Regions from separate parts of the Homo sapiens genome. Here region 2 is linked to region 1. The links are contacts of gene promoters, found by promoter capture Hi-C in human tissues and cell types (Jung and others, 2019). All regions are on one chromosome and are shown on one strand. The core of a region is centred on a gene start or on the middle of the fragment in contact, and the rest is flanking DNA. Distances in the headings are between cores, read along the strand shown. Region 1 holds the start of ANAPC4 (anaphase promoting complex subunit 4). Region 2 overlaps LOC105374534 (a long non-coding RNA gene).

Evidence for each region. The method cuts DNA at HindIII sites, captures the fragments that hold promoters and counts their contacts. A contact is called where the count stands out against the background at its distance.
Region 2: a contact is called between a fragment that was not itself captured here and the fragment with the promoter of ANAPC4 in region 1, in 1 of the 25 tissues and cell types used here (H1 embryonic stem cells).

What each region holds. Positions count from the first base shown.
Region 1 is chr4:25,375,303-25,378,878 of GRCh38, reverse strand. ANAPC4 (anaphase promoting complex subunit 4) reads right to left here and starts at 1,616. Exons shown (of 29, transcript NM_013367.3): 1 at 1,535-1,616; 2 at 1,323-1,461. The coding sequence starts at 1,451. RefSeq lists enhancers at 1,214-1,283, 1,314-1,373 and a silencer at 1,494-1,913. The HindIII fragment of the contact is 8,136 bases long and covers 1-3,576 here.
Region 2 is chr4:25,109,197-25,112,772 of GRCh38, reverse strand. It overlaps LOC105374534 (a long non-coding RNA gene), which reads left to right. Exons shown (of 4, transcript XR_925488.2): 1 at 1-1,360; 2 at 1,444-1,665; 3 at 3,484-3,576. Among named protein-coding and RNA genes, the nearest start is that of SEPSECS, 49 kb to the left of the region's middle. The HindIII fragment of the contact is 5,012 bases long and covers 1-3,576 here.

The DNA.
Region 1 (3,576 bases), core at 367-2,866:
CGACAATCCTGGTTAAACCCAACCATGCCTGCACCCACACAGCCAAACAGAACGGAGAGAGACACATACAACCTTATTCAACCAGTGTCTCTCAAATAATAACACCGATCTCATGTGGGTCTTAACACTGACTGGCAATCCTATTAGGTTTCCCAAGTCCACCTGCTTTGTTAGCTTTTTCATACCTCTTCTTTCTCCTCAAACTTCCAATATATTCTTCTCCATCTTCACCCATAAACAATGCCCTTGCTTCTTCCTTCACTGAGAAAATGGATGTAACAGTGCCCTCTATCACGCCTACCCATCTGATTGCACGGATGTGCCTCCCGTCTACCTTCCCTCCTACTTCTGTGACGGTACCACCTGCTGCTCTCTAGAGCCACAACAGAGTTTCAAAGCATCCCGGCAGCGGAGGGAGACTAGCTAGATTTCATGGAGGGCCCTGAAAAATTAGACATCAATACCCTGGCGACTGGATCATGGTAGATAACATGGTGCAGACTACAGTCTGCAGGGTGCTAAGATTTCCTTATCACCTAGTTTCCAAATTTGGCTCTATACAACTCTCACATGGCCAGATAACTCTCAAGCCAGAGGCGGAAAGATGCACAGGTGAAGGTTTCCTTACAAAATGGCTGGCAGGTAATAACTCTCAGCAGAAAGTTGGGTACAACTGGTTTATACTCGATGAAGTTTTATGTGAACAAGAAATGCTGATAACACCCATGCACGTTCTGTCTGGAATCCAATGCATGCCTTCCTTGTCCAATTTAGAGGTATTTTTAGTGGAGGGTGGTTATCCAACCCGTACTATAAAACGTGGACAAGAGAAGCCAGGTTCTTAAATATATCCTGTGTGGCAGCTACATGCAGGCACATTTGCAGCTGAAGTTTGACAATAACTCTTCCTACTGCTATTAAAACTGTAAGCAAACTTAGGGCAGGGTCCCTGCATCTACCATTATGTCTAGCTCATGAGCAGCACATAGTGGGCTTTTTTAAAAAGTTCATTTAACTAATAAACCAATGAGTGAAGAAGACTTGGGGAAGCAGGATTGCGTGACGGTGTTAAGCTGTGTGAAAACTGTTACTTTAGCCATAAAAGTACCGAAAATAGCACAGACATCACCTTTCGCATATATACTTAAAGTTTACTGCCGTCCTGGGAGGCAGGGAAGGGGTAGCAGGTGGCCAGCCATGTCTGCAGAAGGGGAAACTGAGGCTCCGGCCGCCTGTGGCCCGAATGAACAGGCTCGGGCTCGGTGTTCTTGGGCCCCCCGGGAGCAGACCCAGCACAGGCGGGCTCCCGCCGGCTCACTCACCTCGCCAGCTGTGTTGGCCAAAGCAATGAGATCCCGCTTGGGCGACCAGACCAGGAAAATAATCTCCTGCGGGAGCTGCTTCTCTCCCACCACCCGGAAGGATGGGAAACAGGTCGGAAAACGCAACATGGGGACGGCCCTGCAACGACACCCCAGTCAGAGGCCGGCAGGAGCCCCCGGCTCTCCACGAGGAGCCCCGACCGCGCCTGTACCTGCAAGAGTCCCCACCGGCAGACTAACACGGCCCCAGTGGCCTCTCCCCTCCCTCTGCCGGCCGCGCGCCACAGCCTCCAGGCCGCCCCGCCCCGCCGCTGTCGCGCGCTCCAGGCACTTCCGGCGTCGGGACTGCCTCGCGAGAGGAGGAGGAGGGGCGGGGCGCGCACCGGTCTTGGGGGTGCTGAGAGCCAGAAGGGGCGGACAGGGACGGGGCGCGGTGGGCGGGGCAGGGAGGAGCGAGGGGCGGATCGAGGTGGGGGTAGGATGGGGCCCGTGGGCGGGGCAGGGAGCAGCGATGGGGCAGAGCTAGGAAGGGTGGGGCACGCGGGCGGGGCAGGGAGCCCCGAGGGGCGCGGAGAGGGAGGGAGCCGCGCGCCGGACCCAGGTGCTGGTGGGATCGCTGGGCGCCGGGACCTGAAAGGGCCCGAGAAGGGCGGGGCAGGCCCCTGCGGCCACACGCAGGTCTTTTGGGAACCCGTGTGTGCACGTGTGTGGGCATGCTTGCATACCTTTCCCGTTTTCCCGGAAATTCTCTGCTGTGGGCAAAGGGACGGTAGGGGTTTATGGGGTAGGCTTCAGCGACAACGGGGAGATGAAAAAGAATATGAACTTTAGGTCCTGATCAGCTGGCGCCTCCTCTAACAGTTACTAAGCGAGTAGTTCTCATGTCAGTCCTGGTGGGTCAGTATAGAATTTTAAAAGTCCCCCTGTCCAAGCAGCACCCCAAACCAATTAGAAGAAAATTAACCCTGGATGGGCCCAGTATTTACTAAAACTCTTTGGGTGATTCCAATTTGGAGAGAAGAGGCGCGTGCCCTAAAACCTCCCTAACAGGCAAATAATACTGTGACATCTCATCCCATTTAACCCTCACAACTTATTGGTAGTTGCAGCACCGTCATAACGAATAAAGAGTGTGGGCTCAGGGCCGGGCGCGGTGGCTCACGCCTGTAATCCCAGCACTTTGGGAGGCCGTGGCGGACGGATCACAAGGACAGGAGATAGAGCCCATCCTGGCTAACATGGTGAAACCCCGTCTCTACTAAAAAATACAAAAAAGTAGCCAGGCATGGTGGCGGGCACCTGTAGTCCCATCTACTGGGGAGGCTGAGGCAGGAGAATGGCGTGAACCCGGGAGGCGGAGCTTGCAGTGAGGCGGAGCTTGCAGTGAGGCGGGGCTTGCAGTGAGGCGGAGCTTGCAGTGAGCCGAGATTGTGCCACTGCACTCCAGCCTGGGCAACAGAGCCAGACTCCGTCTCTAAAATATAAAAAAAGAGTGTGGGCTCACACACGATTTCTTCTATAGGTACTTGGGCATTTACTATGTGGAGGAACTGAGGCTACAGCAATGCATGGGACGGGAACTCTGCCCAGAGGCTCACAGGCCAGCCTGGCAGACTTGTAAATCAGAACTCATCTGATGTTGCTTTATGTAGGACACATTTAAATGAGTCAACCTGTTGACAGTTCCCACAGCTATGACCTCCCTAAGAGAATGTGACAGTACCATCCTAGGGTTCTTAAACTTAAAACCTATGGTAGAAAGCCATCTACTTTTTACTACCTTTCACTTGTTCAAAGAAGAAACAGACGGCAGGTCCTTTAACTTTCAACAGGCCCCATCTTCTTGACCTCTGTCTGGATCTAGCCCCTGGGAAGTAGATGACGGAGGGAGACTAATTCATTCAGCATCAAGTAACTATTTTGTGCCAAGTACTGTTCTTAATCCTTGACTTTATACCTACCCTGCTTCCTGTCACGGGCTTTGCAGCCCTTGCCTTTGCCACAAACAACTTACCAAGTGCCCCCAACTCTTCCAGAATCAACATTTCTAAGGTAAAAATGCATTTGCCTTTGTTTTTCACAAAATGCATTTTCAGGTGTTAGTGTTTTGGGGCAGTTATAATGGATCACCTGGTGGGGGTCTAGTATCTATGCACATTAACCTTCTTACGGAAATTGAATGTCCATTTTCCTGGAACTTACCTGAATACAAACACCCATACAGCACGTGAAAATCACTGTTCCCAGAGGCATA
Region 2 (3,576 bases), core at 548-3,047, 270 kb after region 1:
TGAAATTCATATAATTTTCACGAGTCGTGAAATATTCTTCTTTGGTCCTTTCCCCCCCGCCCCACCAATCCTCTAAAAGTGTAAGAACTATTCTCAGCTCATGGGCCATGCAAAAATAGGCAGCTGGTTGGATCTCACTTGTGGGCTGTGGTTTGCCAACCCTCCTTTAGAGCTGGTTCTGCTGTTTATCAAGTGTGTAATCTTGGATAGGTTCCCTGGATAAACCTCAGTGTCCTCAGCTACAAGACGCGAAAAGTAAGGAGGAGTTCCTCCGTCAGGGACTGGGGGATGCGATGGAGTAACTGTGAAGTGTTTAGCATGATACTTACGTAGATCACTCTTGGGAGTGGGAGGTGTCATGATAAGATGATGCTGAGTCCCTTGAAGTTGTTTGTCCTCCCAAAATATACTGATAGGGGGTGCTTGTCACTGTGTAACAACCTCAGCCTTTTTTGCACTTGGTGCTAGTGAAAAGTTGAGGGAAAATCCAACCATGCCCACAGGACAGAAATACTTTTTTTTTTTTTAAACCAAAGAAAAGCCTTTTTACAAAATAGCAACTCATCAGGGAAAAGAAATGTCCGAACTAAATGAGAGCAGGCTGCACGTTGGACCTGCTGACATGAAGCCAGGGCAAGGTGCTTCCCCACTCTGGCCTGCGTTTCCTCCTCTGCATAAGGAGAATTTTGGATTTGGTCCTCTCCCGGGTCAGTCCACCTCTAACACTCTGTCATGCCAGGTGATAACCAAAATATCTAGATCCAGCATTCATGTCTGCAATGTTCTTGCTTTGCTAGCAAGGCCCCTGCCACCAAGAGGAGATCACACGTTTTCTAGATGTCCTTTTTTACCTCCCCACAGGGTCACTGGGGCTTCCCTGTAGGTGAGGTCCTTGGGCAAGTCTACCTCTCTACACCTCAGTTTCCTCATCTGTGAAATGGGGATAATAACAATGGTCTCAACAGCACGGGGTTGAGGGGAAAACGAAATAGGATGCTAGGTGCAAAGTGCATAGCATGGGACAAGAACTTTGCCAAAGTCAACGAAGAGCTCAGTGTTCTGCATTGGTGCCCGCCTCCATGCTCAGGTCCTCAAGAGACCCGTGACGGTCTTCCCTTGATCTTGGCTTTGGTGTTGGTGATGGCGGTAAGGAATCATCTAGTAGCCAAGTAGGACCTTTTATTCCTGAGGACTAATGAGACTGTGAACTTTGTGAATCCTCCACTCCTAGCAGCCAGAAGACTCAGCCCAGGCCAGAGGTCGTGGTCTGTGGGGCTCTGGTGGTCAGCAGAAGAGGCCAGGATAGAGCGAGACGGACAATGACCACGAGCACAGAAAGCTGCAGAGGAGCAGGATCCAGGTAGGAGCCAGAGTCTGTCCACTCAGCATGTGTGAACCTGGCCTAGATTTGCCCAAATCCAGCTCCCTGCTCTCCCCTTTCAGAAGCAGAAGCTTGTGACTTGGCACCTGTTTCCGGAACCCACTATGGCCCAACCTTCTCAGAAGATTTTGCACCTTGAGCCAAAGAGGATGCAGGGCTCTTGGGACCCAAGAGCCTGAGTAGGGCTTCTGCCCTCCCTCTCCGGCCTGAAGTTTCCCATTCATCAGCTGGAACCTTCACACCTGCCCAGAGGACTGCTGACTCGCACTGACGGTGGCCACAAGGTGACAGCTTGTGTCCTGTGGGGGTAGATGGTGATAACCATCTGGTAACCAAGCAGATGAAGTCCTGGGGTGATGAAATCTTAGGAAGTAAAGAAGATTGGTCTTGTCCTTAGCTATCCTCACTCCTTTGGAGCAAGCCCCCAAAGTCCCTGCCACAGCAGGCCCTGGGCATGGAAGGGATGACTGATGACAGTGTCATTGTCAAGGATGGGTATGCCAAGGATGGAAGAGTGGCTGCTTCTGCCTTGCACCATTCCCCTCTCCTGAGCCAGCCTCCTTCCTACCTTTTGACTCCCTCTCAGGCAGTAGTCACAGCCTTCTAGAGACAAAGCTGGCGCAAATCACAGGTCAGCTGGCCTGCAGGGCAGTGGGAACCCCCAGGGCGTGGGTGGAAAGGGCAGAGGCGGGCTGGACCATTTATCTATCTGTCTGAGAGTTACTGAGCACTGGCCAGAGACTGCTCATTTCTTCTCAATATTTCCTCCTGTCCCTTAGAATCCTGACTTTAACTGGGAATAATGCTGCCCTTCCCGGTGGGAATAACACTGCCCTTCCCAGTGGGATAAGCTTCCTAGCTGATGTAACCATGCATTAAGGTTAGGCCAATGAGATGTAAACTGAATTATTGTATAGAACTGCTAGAAATTTTCGCCAAAAAAAACTGGTATGCCTTTTTATGCCTCTTTGTGCCTTTTTGTTCCTGACACAGAATTCAGATGTGATGGCTGCAGCTTAAGCAGCCATCATGGACCATGAAGTAGACACACTAAACCTGCTGCAGGAGCAAGATGGAAGGAGTCTGGACCTCTGACAATGACAGTTTCACAAAACTTTTCCTGGGGTGTACGCCTCCAGACACCTCTTATTCCTGAGAGGCAGATAAACTGCTCCCTTTTAAAGCCACTGTTGTTTTGAGTTGATCTGTTACACATAGTCAAACCTGATCCAAACTCAAAAATAAAAGAAAAAGCAAAAAAACCTGATCCAAACTGATTCAAGTCCCTGCTGTGTGACAGACACTCTTCGAGGTTGTGGTGACCCAGCAGTGAGGATAGGATGGTCACCAGCACAGTGACCATAGTGCCTGCCCTGTACAGCCACATTCCAGTGGAGAGAAAGCTATATATGAGGAAACAGTAATTTTATGAAATAATTGGTGGCATGAAATAAAACAGGTGATATTGAGTGAGACACAGTTCTGAGACTGTCTCATTTATTAACTAATCTAATCTTCATATCAATTCTGTGAGGTGGTGACAATTATCATACCCATTTTACAGATGAAAAAGGAGGCCCAGTGGGTAGGTAACGCATAAGGACACATGCCAATGAGCAGAGGAAGCAGCATGTGACTCCCAACACTCAGCCTCCAGAGCTCACCCTCCTAGCAGCTTCCCCAACTGCTTCCATAGCAGGGTAGAGAGAGGAACCACTTCCCAGGAACTGTGGCCTGACCAGTGCTGGGCCCTCTAACTGACATCAGTAGTCTTTTTTTTCTTTTTTTTTTTTCTTTTTTTTTGCCCAGTCTGGAGTGCAATGACGCGATCTCAACTCACTGTAACCTCCACCTCCCAGGCTCAAGCGATTCTCCTACCTCAGCCTCCCAAGTAGCTGGGACTACAGGTGCGCGACACCACACCCGGCTAATTTTTGTATTTTCACTAGAGATGGGGTTTCACCATGTTGGCCAGGCTGGTCTCAAACTCCTGACCTCAAATGATCCGCCCACCTCGGCCTCCCAAAGTGCTGGGATTACAAGCGTGAGCCACCGTGCCTGGTCCTATCCAGTAGTCTTTATAACAACGCTATTCCCTTCAGGTGTGACCTTTCAACATGATGATCCTGGGGCGTGAGACTTAGTGGTGGCTGTCCCCAAGAGCACGCCTGGCAAGAGTACCAGCTGGAAACTGC